Regions from separate parts of the Homo sapiens genome. Here region 1 is linked to region 2. The links are contacts of gene promoters, found by promoter capture Hi-C in human tissues and cell types (Jung and others, 2019). All regions are on one chromosome and are shown on one strand. The core of a region is centred on a gene start or on the middle of the fragment in contact, and the rest is flanking DNA. Distances in the headings are between cores, read along the strand shown. Region 1 has its middle 30 kb from the start of NPBWR1. Region 2 holds the start of OPRK1 (opioid receptor kappa 1).

Region 1 (6,099 bases), core at 1,547-4,046, 280 kb after region 2:
CTGTAGAAAGCAGCAACTGTAGAAAGACATGCTGTAGAAAAACATGTAATGTTTTTCAGCTGTAGAAAGACATGCTACTGTGGGGACCCACTCAGCCCCCAGAGTTGGTATGAAGATTGTTTTAAACTGAAGGCATTTGAGATTCAACAGATGTAGAAAGCAGCTTTTTTGGAGCTTCCCTTATCCTACTAGAAGCAGAAACTTCTAGGAGTGAGGCTGCCACAAAAATCCCTCTCCAGGGAGTTTTACAGCCCAGAAAAAGATGAAGACCACTTGTACCTACCTAAACATAAGTCATCACAAATTTTCTTATCTTGTATTTGTTCCCCTAAAAATCGATTTGTCTTTCATAAGGAAACCATTGGATCTGCCCATAGAAGCCCCCTTTCCCCTCTCCTCTTCCCCTGTGAAAGATGCCGTATAAACCTCTATCTTTAGCAGTTCAGGAGCCACTTCTTTTGTGTTCTACATATGAATAAACGTTATCTTTTCTCCTGTTAATCTGTCCATTGTCAGCTAAATTAGCAGGCCCCAGCCACTGAACCTAAATTGGTAGGTGAAAAGGTCTTCCTGTCACACCACACTATGAATGAAGCTCGAAAACATTAGCTAAGTCAAAGCAATCAGCCACAGCAGGTCACATGTTGTGTGAATCTATTTATATGAAATATTCAGAACAGACAAATCTTTACAGACAGAAAGCAGATTGGTGGTTGCCAGTGGCTGGGGGAAAGAGGAACGGGGAGTGACTGCCTATGGGCACAGGGTTTATTTAGGAGTAATAAAAATGTCTGGAACTAGATAGAAGTGGTGGTGGCCAAACTTTTTGAATGTACTAAATGTCACTAAATTTTTCATTTTAAAACTGTTTATGTGAGTTTCACTTCAATTAAAAAAAATTAAAAATTTAACTGGGGCTCAACTTTGATGAACCTTGAATGACAAGATAAAGGCTTTAGATTTTATCCTATAAATAACCAGAAACATTTCATAAAATATTTCTTAAAAGCAAACCTAACATTTTAGGATAATAATTTCTAATGTATGTGTTTATCTGAGATCAAAGCACCCTGTTAGGAAGTAGAGCATTCAATCGACTTGTCTAAATGAAGCTCCCCACTTGCCAAGGCTAAGTTTTTTTATTTTTCCCCCACTTAATGAAATTGGCAAACATAGTGACTAGTTCTGTCTGCATTCAGTTGTGTATGATCACAGAGCCCCTTTCAGTCTTTAAACAAGAATCATTTTATGGGTACCTGAGATAGTAACAGGGTTTTGAAAACGCTAATCTATGATGACCTGAAGGTAGCACGAAGAAGTATGTACAATAAATGAGAAGAGTGAGATAAGAGAACAGCAGTGCTAGAGACAGAGAAAGTGAGTCAGGGGCAGCCAGGTGGTGGCCTGTGATGTCAGAAGACTGCTTGGCAGGAAGTGAGGCCTGAACAGGCGTTTGCCCCTTTCACGTGAAACAGAGGGATCAAGATCCTGTTTTCTTAAGACTCAGGCAACCTGAGACAACATTTCAGTGAAACTAAAGATGAAGGCAGACTTCTGAAACTCAGACAACAGAAAGCCCTGTATCTGTTAAGTTATACTGGATTTCTAAAATTGCTCTACATTTGTTCAGTTTACGCCTCAAAGGCAAGGGGAAAGAGAGCAAAGGCCACAGCTTTAAGGTCTCAGCACTTCATGGAAGCCCTGCCTCCAGCCACATGGGGCCACCTGCTGGGAATTGATGAGCTGCAGAGTAGGAAACCTGTTTTTTTTTTTACCTCAAATTCAGGTTTATAAGTCAAAAGCCACATCATGACACCTAATCATTTACTTCTCTATTTTGTTTCTTTTTTTTAATTTTCTTTAAATACGCAATTAATATAAAGCCCCATGGGATCTCAGTGATAAACTCTCATTTTCAAGATAAATGAAATGGCCAATATGGTCTGTAAACTAACAGATCAATAAATAAAACACCCAGCTTAGGACTACAAGGCGACTTCTTTATGACTGAGTAAACCATCTTTAGCAGCTATTAGAGAAGAAACACTGTCATAAATCTATTTCTTACTGCATTCTCATAACACCTCATGTGCACTTCATGCCAGTGAGAAGTGACAGCGTGCTGGCAGTCCTCACAGCCCTCGCTCGCTCTTGGTGCTTCCTCTGCCTGGGCTCCCAATTTGGCGGCACTTGAGGAGCCCTTCAGCCCACCGCTGCACTGTGGGAGCCCCTTTCTGGGCTGGTCAAGGCCAGAGCCAGCTCCCTCAGCTCTCAGGGAGGTGTGGAGGGAGAGGCGAGAGCAGGAACAGGGGCTGCACGTGTCACTTGCGGGCCAGCTGGAGTTCCAGGTGGGCGTGGGCTTGGCGGCCCCGCACTAGGAGCAGCTGGCCGGCCCTGCCGCCCCCGGGCAATGAGGGGCTTAGCACCCAGGCCAGCAGCTGCGGAGGGTGTACTGGGTCCCCCAGCAGTGCCAGCCCACCAGCGCTGCACTCGATTTCTCGCCGGGCCTTAGCTGCCTTCCCACGGGGCAGGGTTGGGCTCAGGACCTGCAGCCCGCCATGCCTGAGCCTCCGCTCCCCTCCACCTCCGCCGTGACCTCCTGTGCAGCCCAAGCCTCCCCAACAAGTGCTGCCCCCTGCTCCATGGTGCCCAGTCCCATCGACCACCCAATGGCTGAGGAGTGTGGGCACTCGGTGCCGGACTGGCAGGCAGCTCCACCTGCAGCCCCAGTGTGAGATCCACTGGGTGAAGCCAGCTGGGCTCCTGAGTCTGGTGGGAACTTGGAGAACCTTTATGTCTAGGTCAGGGATTGTAAATACACCAATCGGCACTCTGTATCTAGCTCAAGGTTTGTAAACACACCAGTCAGCGCCCTGTGTCTAGCTCAGGGTTTGTGAATGCACCAATAGACACTCTGTATCTAGCTACTCTGGTGGGGACTTGTAGAACCTTTGTGTCCACACTCTGGATCTAGCTAATCCGGTGGGGATGTGGAGAACCTTTGTGTCTAGCTCAGGGATTATAAACGCACCAATCAGCACCCTGTCAAAACAGACCACTCGGCTCTACCAATCAGCAGGATGTGGGTGGGGCCACATAAGAGAATAAAAGCAGGCTGCCCAGAGCCAGCAGTGGCAACCCGCTGGGGTCCCCTTCCACACTGTGGAAACTTTGTTCTTTCGCTCTTTGCAATAAATCTTGCTACTGCTCACTCTTTGGGTCCACACTGCCTTTATGAGCTGTAACACTCACCGCGAAGGTCTGCAGCTTCACTCCTGAGCCAGTGAGACCACGAACCCACCAGAAGGAAGAAACTCCAAGCACATCCAAACATCAAAAGAAACAAACCCCGGACACGCTGCCTTTAAGAACTGTAACACTCACCGCGAGGGTCCACGGCTTCATTCTTGAAGTCAGTGAGACCAAGAACCCACCAATTTCAAGACACAGTTGGACACACCAGGACGCCTCACCTGTAGTGAATGTGTTCATCTCCACCATTAGACCATGAGCTCTCTGAAAATAGGAACCTTTTCCTATATTTCTGCAGTACCAGTGGTCAGCACAGCACACAGACACAGAGGAAATGTTCAGTTAATGAATATGAACTCCATCTGTGGCTCATGAGGTCAGAGACTGCATGCCTTGCTCACTGTTGTGCCTTCAATACATAGTTCAGATGTAGCACATAGTAAGACTTCAAATATGTGTTTTTTGAGTGATTGAATGAATGAATAATAGGTTAATTATGGGATGCAGATACTCAGCTATTTTCATTTCTTAGAGCCCTCTTCCAGTATTAAAATATCCAAATAGAAGCTTTAAAAAAGAGCCATTTGGACATTTTGCCTGTACATTGCCAAACATCTTCATGGTGGATATATCTAGATGTGTAATACTATAAACCTGGGTGACTGCATATCATACTTCTTTAGATACTTCAACGTGGTTCAGTACAAGCATTTTCAACCATTTTCTCTGTAAGCACTACTTGTTAATTCTCCTTTATATGAAACTTAAAAAATTGGACTTCTAATCTAGCTCCTTTCTAGACAAGAGCTATTCTGCACTGGGTAAATCAGCATGCTGAGTGTACATGATTTTTCTGCTGTTCTTTCTTAGCTGAAATGCCCTCCTGCTCAGGGAAATGACCTGAAATTGCTGCTCATGATTTACCTCTCAGAACTTTGTGTCGTCAAGCGTGGCTGTGGCCTGGTTTCATGCCTCTAAAGTAAATTTCTTTTGGACAGAAATGTTCATATGCTGTACTAAACCATTACAAAAGCGATGTCCTTTTCGCTTTTTGGAAACAATAATAAAAGTAAGCAGGGAAAAGTGCAGTCTTTTAGTATTTAAAGCATGACTTTTTACATTGACATATATTTAAAACTTGCTTATCAGATATTTTAGCATCTATATTTTATTAACTGTCAGGCCAGTATAACTAAAAAAAGGAATGGTAGATATGCAAAATTCTAACACTGACTGGAGACACTGGCAAATCTGAAGTATCTTCAGAATCATAGAAAACATTATTATAGAATTCTATAGGTATTAGGCATATGCTGTTTTAGCCAAAGTCTAATTTTAAAAAAAAAAATACTAGAGTATAAACTATTGTGTGTGGATGGACACAGATATAAGCAGATACAGATAAACATGTCTAGTCAAAGTCTTAAATTTTCCAAAAAATGTAGTATAAACTGTTTTCAACTACTTATAATACAAATCATTTCTGGCATATTTGCTTCTATTTAAAAAGTTTTGTGCACATTTTCATTTGTAACTTTGGACCAAATATTTGGCTGTTATTATGACAAATGCCAAAGCTATGACTAAGTCACGGTATAGGAAAAAGTGACAGAGGATTACTAAATATCCCCTTTCTTTGAAAGGGAAATTTTCATTTGTTATCAGTAAGTCAATTCTACACTTTAGTTTGGTTACTAGCTTACATATTTGAATAGAAGATTTAAAATTGGCATCAAAAGCAAAGGTGCCCACAGATACTGTTCCCAAATAGAATCACTGCCAGCACTGTGAGCTCAACTGAGCCAAAAGAGCAGTGGCTAAGAATACCCAAGAACAACAGACCCCGGGACCTATGTGAAGGTGGAGGGTGGGAGGAGGGTGATGATTGAAAAACTACCTTTCAGGGACTATGCTTATTACCTGGGTGATGAAATCTGTAAAACAAACTCTTGTGACATGCAATTTACCTATATAACAAATCTGCACATGTACCCCTGAACCTAAAATTTAATAAAAAGAGACATAAAGAAGAAAAAAGAAAGAATTCGGCAATCTATGAACTTGGATTAAAGGAAAAAAAAAGGTTCTCTAATCTATAACTAAAATTTTGCATTTCTATTATGAACATGGCAACAAACTATAGTAGAATTAGGAGTACCTAAGGCTTTGTCACCAAGAATAATGAGAGGAATGTTCATAACTCAGTACAGGCATTGCAGAATTCTCAAAGCATGGTTTATTATTACTACTTCAAAACTGTAGTATATGATTGGACCTACCACTAGATCCTGTTTAATGCATTAATAGGCATTTGTTTTGCTTTATCACACACACGCAAAGAATACGGAAGAAACATGTTGTTCTCTTCAGGACAAAAGAGTTATTAATATAACAAACCTTATATTTTTTCCCAAAGAGTTTTCTCTATAAGAATTAAACTAAAAACAGTTATATCACCATGGTTGCACTAAAGTCAACAAATGTAAAATTTGTCATATCCCAAATTACGCCTGTAATCCCAGCACTTTGGGAGGCCGAGCTGGGTGGATCACCTGAGGTTGGGAGTTTGAGACCAGCTTGGCCAATATGGTGAAACCCCATCTCTACTAAAAATACAAAAAATTAGCTGGGTATGGTAGCAGGCGCCTGTAATCCAGCTACTTGGGAGACTGAGGCGGGAGAATCACTTGAACCCTGGAGGCGCAGGTGGCAGTGAGCCAAGATGCTCCACTGCACTCCAGCCTGGGCGACAGAGTGAGACTCTGTCTCAAAAAAAGAAAAGAAAAGAAAAAGTATGTTATGCTTAAATTGATTGTACTTGGAGAAATTCCAATGTATGGGATAATA
Region 2 (7,054 bases), core at 1,955-4,454:
CACATGTGCCTCCCTGCCTTTCCTTCTTGATAAAATTCTTGCTTAAATTCCGATCCCTACCTTAGTGTCATCTTTCTTCTACTACCAGAGATAATCTCAACTTCTTTTGAAATAATTCTGCCCATACGTCTGATGTGCCATTCATTGCTTTGTGTTGCCAAAATTTCTCTCACTCCCCAACTTAGAGTCTGACATGTGACTGGCATTGACTTTTCAAACCTGTGGATTTAATGCAGTCAAGAATTTCAGTATAAGCAGTTCCAAGTTTAAGTCTATGGCCGTGAAAAAGTCCTGGTTGCATGTTGTCTATGTCACATGCAGATGCGCGGCACCTTTAGCTGGAACAGCACATGATTCCAATTGAATTTGGAGCTCCTCACACCTCCTCATTCCCTCCAGTATGTTCACCAAACTAAAGACAAGTGATACTTCAAAGACCCCAATCTGGGCATGCCACTCTCCTGCCTGAGAGCCTTCACTGGCTCTTTATTACTCTTAGGCTGAAATCCAAAATCTTTGACATTCTTGACAAGGCTCAGCATGGTCTGCACCTTAACTGCTCTTGATCACCAGGCTCAAGCACCTCAGCCTCGTCAGGGTGCCACAGAAATGCCCCACTCTTGACCATCTACATTCTTCACATATGCTGTGGAATGCTCTTTCTTCCCCCTCTCCTGGATAACTGCCATAACTGCAATCCTTAAATATCAGCTTCAATGCCATTTCAAGAAGGGCTTCCCTGATGTTCTCTGACTGAGCAGGGTTCCCAGACACCAGGTCTTCTTCAGGGGATCTGCACACTTGTGTAGACTACACTGCACCTAAGTGTGCAGTATCTCACAGTATGCTTCACACCGAAGACAAGACTGATTTGGGTATTTATTATAACAACTTGCTGACAGATCTAAGTAAAGTGCCTTATGAAAGGGATGCTATTTTTAAATTTCATGCAAATTTGCTGCACTGGCTATCACTGTTTATTAAACACCTTTCCACATAACATTTGCCAGAGTTGGATGAATTTGTTATTAATTATTTATTAATTATTCCTAACATTAAAAAAATTTAGATCCCATGTGTCACACTAGCTTCACATCCTCTTTGAGAAGAGATTGTCTCTGTGTTGGTATTGTTGTATCCCCAGAGGGTGCCTTTTCTTCAGCCACTTGGGGATACTCTGCAATATCTGCTGAGTGAAGTGAGCTGAAGCCAGCTGCATCCCGGCTCAGCAAGACTCCATTGGCTGCACTGGGGTCTTAAGCTAATGAAGTTGCTCCCTCCAGCTCTGCACTCATTGCTGCACAACAATATCTGTTGTTGGAGCCACAAGAAAGGGAGTTAATTGCAATTTACTGGTGGGTTATCTAGTCTATCTAACAAAAATGTCAAAGCCACCCACTACCCAGGATGCTCCTTAGCATTGTAGCATTATCCAATAAAAATCTCCACATTTTCATCTTTAAAAGTGCTTTCCATGTACTTAGTTATAAGCATAGTGTTTGCATTGAGTAGAATGGCCAAGTATAACCACATGTGCTTTATATCAGTGTGTAACAGTATATAGCATTTTAGCAGTTTACTTTTCCTTTCTATTTTATGAGCTTTTATCTGATATTATGATAAAATTGCATACTCCTAAGAGCATGACTCCACAGAAGCAGCCATACTTCCTGGATTTAGAGACTCGAGTGGGTTCCCCTGGCAACCTGAGCCACCTGAGGGCTTCTCAATGCTCTGTTCATTTTGTCTTCCCTTTATTTTGGCCATTAATTTGGTAAACAAGAAAGGTAAGAGTGCTCAAATGAAATAAAACTACTGAGGCCCTTATGAGGTCTCAGCAGGTCTGATGTGTTACTGAAGGAGATGTGATCCTTCAATGACAGTTTGCAATCAGACTTAAAAGAACTCTAAGACTTGATAATAATTTTCAAAATTATTTGAAAGGGTTGAAGGGATATGGTTGAACAAAGGGAAGATTTCCTTATGCTCTTCATATTACACTGCTCAAAAGAGTTGTTCATCTCCAGGCGGCAAGACGCTGGTGGTCAAATCCCACTTTGGGGTCATGGCGTCTTGAAAGAGACAGGAACCCCCTTCTGCCCTCCGCTGATGGAGGGAAGGGCTGTATCAGTCATTAGTGTGTCCAGGTGTGGCATGGACATTAGCTGTGGGATGCAGTGGGGACCTGTGTTTGTCAGCCTGAGGCAGTGAATCCACTGGGGAAATTGAGGTGCCTAAACCCCCAGTCTCCCCCAGGCCTGTCTCCAGTACCCTGTGGAGAAGGGGAACTTCCCCACTCCCTTTCAGAACCTTCACCTCAGGGGCTGAGCCCTTGCTCCCTTTGTGTCTTGCCGGTCCCTTTGCCTGAGAAGAGAATGTCTCTCACTCAGCAGGATCTGACAGCTACCCTTGGACTAGCAGAGTTTTGCAAAGAAATGATGGTGACAGTTTATTTACGGACGCTCAGATTCGCGGCCGTATAATGGAGGCAGCCCTACTGTGAGGGAGAAGTGAGGAGAACGTGATGGCTGCAGGGATTAATGTAAAACAGAGACACTGTCACCTCCCTGGAGCACCACTGAGGCCCGGGTAAGGAGAGTGTTTTGCCCTTCTCAGATACTATCAGCAATTCAGGTAATACCCGTAAGGTGCAGTTTGTCTGCAGCCTGTCATCCCAGTTAGAGCAGACGGAATGGAAGAGAACGCAAGGAAATATTCTATTTATGTGTCTTTTAAGTCATTATTTTATGAACTGGTCTTATTCTAACTGGATCATTTTGTTACTTTCTTTGGATGGGCCATTCTAATAAGCGTAGTTCCTGACTGCGAACTATGCAGATAAGAAGTTCTAGACACAATATGAAAATCCAGGTGCATACTTGCACTAAATAGGCATGCTCCTCCTTTTTACTAAATCTAAATGGCTCAGTCTCAGGTCTTGGGGAAGGCTGCATGGCCGGGGACCAGGCGGTGTGCCGCTCGGGCAGTTAGTGGGCCGGGCGAGCCTGCGGGGCTGGAGGGGACGCGGGGCTGGGAGGCTGGGGAGCTGGGGGCTGACTCCGGGCGGGCGGGGCGGGGCAGGGACCTGCCGGCCTGGGGCGGGCGCACCAGACGAGCTCTCCGCCCGCAGGCCCCCAGCGCCCAGCCGCGTCCCGGCTGCGTCCCGCCGGTCCCGCCCCGCCCCGCCCCGCAGAGCCGCCGCCAGTAGTGGGAGACGTGCGCTGAGAGGCGGGGGCTGCGCTCGGCGGAACAGCAGCCCTCGGGCGGAGAGCGGGGCCGGGGTCCGAGAGCAGGTGATGCCAAGAGCTGAGCGGGACTCGTGAGCGCGCGGTTCAGCACCTACCAGGGCGTCCCGTAAAAAACCTCGCCTTCGCCTGTCTCTGGGAACCATAGGTAAGCTTTGGGCTTTCGAGGTGCAGTTCTAGGTAGAGCTCCGTGCTGGGAGGTGGGAAGGGGGCTTGACCCTGGGGACTCAGGCAGTCTGGGGACAGTTCCACCAGGGGCCGGTGCCTAGAATTGGTGAGGGAGGCACCTCAGGGGCTGGGGGAGAAGGAGCGAGCGCTCTTCGCCCCTCTCTGGCACCCAGCGGCGCGCCTGCTGGCCGGAAAGGCAGCGAGAAGTCCGTTCTCCCTGTCCTGCCCCCGGCGACTTGCGGCCCGGGTGGGAGTCCGCAGGCTCCGGGTCCCCAGCGCCGCTGGCCAGGGCGCGGGCAAAGTTTGCCTCTCCGCGTCCAGCCGGTTCTTTCGCTCCCGCAGCGCCGCAGGTGCCGCCTGTCCTCGCCTTCCTGCTGCAATCGCCCCACCATGGACTCCCCGATCCAGATCTTCCGCGGGGAGCCGGGCCCTACCTGCGCCCCGAGCGCCTGCCTGCCCCCCAACAGCAGCGCCTGGTTTCCCGGCTGGGCCGAGCCCGACAGCAACGGCAGCGCCGGCTCGGAGGACGCGCAGCTGGAGCCCGCGCACATCTCCCCGGCCATCCCGGTCATCATCACGGCGGTCTACTCCGTAGTGTTCGTCGTGGGCTTGGTGGGCAACTCGCTGGTCATGTTCGTGATCATCCGGTGAGCGCGGGGACAGCGCAGCGCTGGGGGCTGGGCGGGGCAGGGAGTGAGGGTCAGGCCCCGCCACTGGAGCAGCAGTGGGGGCAGCCAGCCAGGTGGTGGGGACTCTGTTCCGTGAAGGATCCTGGAAATGCTACAGGGTGGCTTCCTAGAAGAGGTGAAGGATTTTCTGGGAGTTTTTGGTGGAGTGCTGAGAGGTTCACACAGGCGAATCCGAGCGGCCAGGGGCGTCTGGAAGATTTCAGAGTAACCCCCCGACCCCACCCTAGGGCCCAGTGTTTCTGCTGAAAACTCTATGCGCAGGGCAAGGTGCCAGGGTGCTGACAACAGGGTCAGGGGTTCCTGGTAAAGGAACTAATCCATTTGCCTGCGCCAGTTTGGAGCACTTTGTTATGCCCTTTGCAAATATTTCTTAAGATAAATTTCAAGCCCACCCAATGCACTGAAGATAATTCCGAATTTCCTGGGACTCCTCAGACTGGTGTTTTGGCTTATGAAACAAAACCTGATATATGCTCTAGCGTTGTTGATATGCATATATGAGCCTTTTTAGTATCAAATGGCATCCCATTTGTTAGGAATATCAGTAAATAATATTTATCCTCTAAAACATGGCCTGTGGAGATTTTCAAAAACTACTTCGCTGTTTTTTTCACCATGAGAAATTGAAGGTTTTATTTGTGTGTGTGTGTGTGTGTGTGTGTGTGTGTGGAAATTTCTTCAAGTCAACTTCCAATAATAAGTATCCCAATATCCACATATATGCTAATTTTTTGGTAAGCAAAGTGATTCTGACTTTAAGAAAGAAAAACAAGAAAAGGAAAACCTAACTTTGTTCTGCACTTTTCTTAAGATAGATGTGTTTCCTTTTCTGGGAGCACTAGAGCTTTGTCAACACACCTGTGAGAGGGAGTAGGAAGCTTGTGTTCCTTTGAGAAGTCTCTATGAAATAAGGGCGGGATGCAAGTCACCCTGGCTAGGGACTCTGAAACGATGAATAGCTGATTTTTTTTAAGCTTGATTTTAGTTTTGAAACAGGCCATTTATTTATTATGAACTTTAACAACCATATCATGAATGGTAGCATAAATGTTTCTCTTGGAAAATTATCATAATAAAATACTGCTTTATTTTTATTTTTACTTTTTTGCTTGAGAATGTCAGGTCTTTTATTCCTATGTATGCTCTGACATTAAAAACCATCATTTAAGTCGCCAAACACATATTATAAAGCTCATTTCATCAACAACTAGTGTTTATAGCTTGGTGCCCTTGGTTTTCATAATTGCCTATTGCATTTCGCAGGAATTCTATCCATGATGAGTAAAGGTTATAGAAGGAAGGAATATTTTAAAATTAAATTGTTTGTCCAAGTCATTAGTAATCTCAGGGCTGGCCTCCACTAAAGAGACAATTAGACAAAAGAAAAGACAACTGTATTCTAAATTTTAATTAAAAATTTTAGGAGATCTTTGGTACAGAAGCTATTTATTTGGTGGTGGGGTAATAGAAACATTGTTAAGCAAAAGAAAGCTCTAGGAAAAAAAATAGCTCTGTTTCTACCCATATCATATTTAGGTGCTCAAGTAAAACAGATACATATTGTTATTTGAATGAGCCCCTGAAGTCTGCAGTTTGAAAAGAGCTTTGTAGTTGCTCTACAACCTTTTGCAGACTAGGATTAAAAAGAATGAAGAATCCTAAAATAACATTTAGATGTTATGTGCAAATATAACTCCATGGGGAACATTTGACATGTAAGAAGGAAAAAAAAATCCTGTAGATTAGCTAGGATTTTTAATGGATAGATTTCCCAAATATATCCAACACTAAAGTGTGTTATAAGGGGATAAGTTCAGCTAAAAATATAAAAGAAGTTGGATAGTTCACATACATCATTCTCCATTCTCCCACCTCCCAATACTTAAAGGTTACGTTTGATGATGAATGAAAAGCGAAGAGTTCTACTGCCATCCTGGAGTACCAACCTACTGAAATCTATCTAGTTCACTTATGGCTAGAGCACATACATTTTAAGGTCTTCACAAGTAAAAGGTTAATGTCTAGTGAACCTAGTTCACTCAAGTCTATAGCTAAGAAGGAAAAGGAGTATTTAGTATTATTTCATAATGATAGATGGTTCAAGGATTGAAAAATAAAACCTTTGAAGAAGAATTGATGTACTTGGGTTTATTTATCTTAGGAAATGAAGAGACTGAAGATCAGAGAGAGGGTGGCATGAAGTGGGTTGCGTTGTGATCATCAGGCCTGAGTGCAGAACCAGGGTGTGGAGGCCCCATAGCCCTTGTTACTGAAGAGACTGAGTAGCTGTGCTTGAAAGATGAAGGATACTATTTTATATGTTTTACATGGGAAAGGCTCCTAGCATAGTTCAACCTTATAGAAAATCATTGTAGAAATGGAACTTAGATGCTCAGAGTGTGGGCAGGTGCAGATCTAGACTGTTCAGCTCAGACCTGGGGAGAAAGAGCTCTGGAGAAAGATATGCCTACTTTTAGGCCTGCCTTACAAATAGCTTTTCCCACCTTGGGCCCCTGGAATGCTGCCTCGTATCTTCTGATTTAAAGTTTCAAGAGTTCTCATCATTTAGTGTGTACCAACTGACATAATCCCTTGATAATTAGGGCACATTAACTTTCACTGTGGAGACCTTCAAATGTCAGTGCTCCAGCCCCCTCACTCATCAGGCTTTGGGGTTTGTGGTTGTTGGGTGTGAATGTGGGTGTGACCCTCAGGATTCTTTTTTTTTTTTTTTTTTTTTTTTTTTTTGAGACAGAATCTGGCTCTATTGCCCAGGCTGGAGTGCAGCGGCATGATCTCAGCTCATTGCAACCTCTGCCTCCCAGGCTCAAGCAATTCTCTCACCTCAGCCTCCCAAGTAGCAAGGATTATGGGGATGCACCACCATGCTAATTTTTGTATTTTTGGTAGAGATGGAGTTGCACCATGTTGTGCAGGCTGGTCTCAAACTCC

What was found. The method cuts DNA at HindIII sites, captures the fragments that hold promoters and counts their contacts. A contact is called where the count stands out against the background at its distance.
Region 1: a contact is called between a fragment that was not itself captured here and the fragment with the promoter of OPRK1 in region 2, in 1 of the 25 tissues and cell types used here (mesendoderm cells).

The regions. Positions count from the first base shown.
Region 1 is chr8:52,966,417-52,972,515 of GRCh38, reverse strand. No RefSeq gene overlaps it. Among named protein-coding and RNA genes, the nearest start is that of NPBWR1, 30 kb to the right of the region's middle. RefSeq lists an enhancer at 1,493-1,994. The HindIII fragment of the contact is 7,141 bases long and covers 1-6,099 here.
Region 2 is chr8:53,247,787-53,254,840 of GRCh38, reverse strand. It overlaps OPRK1 (opioid receptor kappa 1), which reads left to right and starts at 3,204. Exons shown (of 4, transcript NM_000912.5): 1 at 3,204-3,393; 2 at 3,756-4,060. The coding sequence starts at 3,804. The HindIII fragment of the contact is 8,793 bases long and covers 1-4,189 here.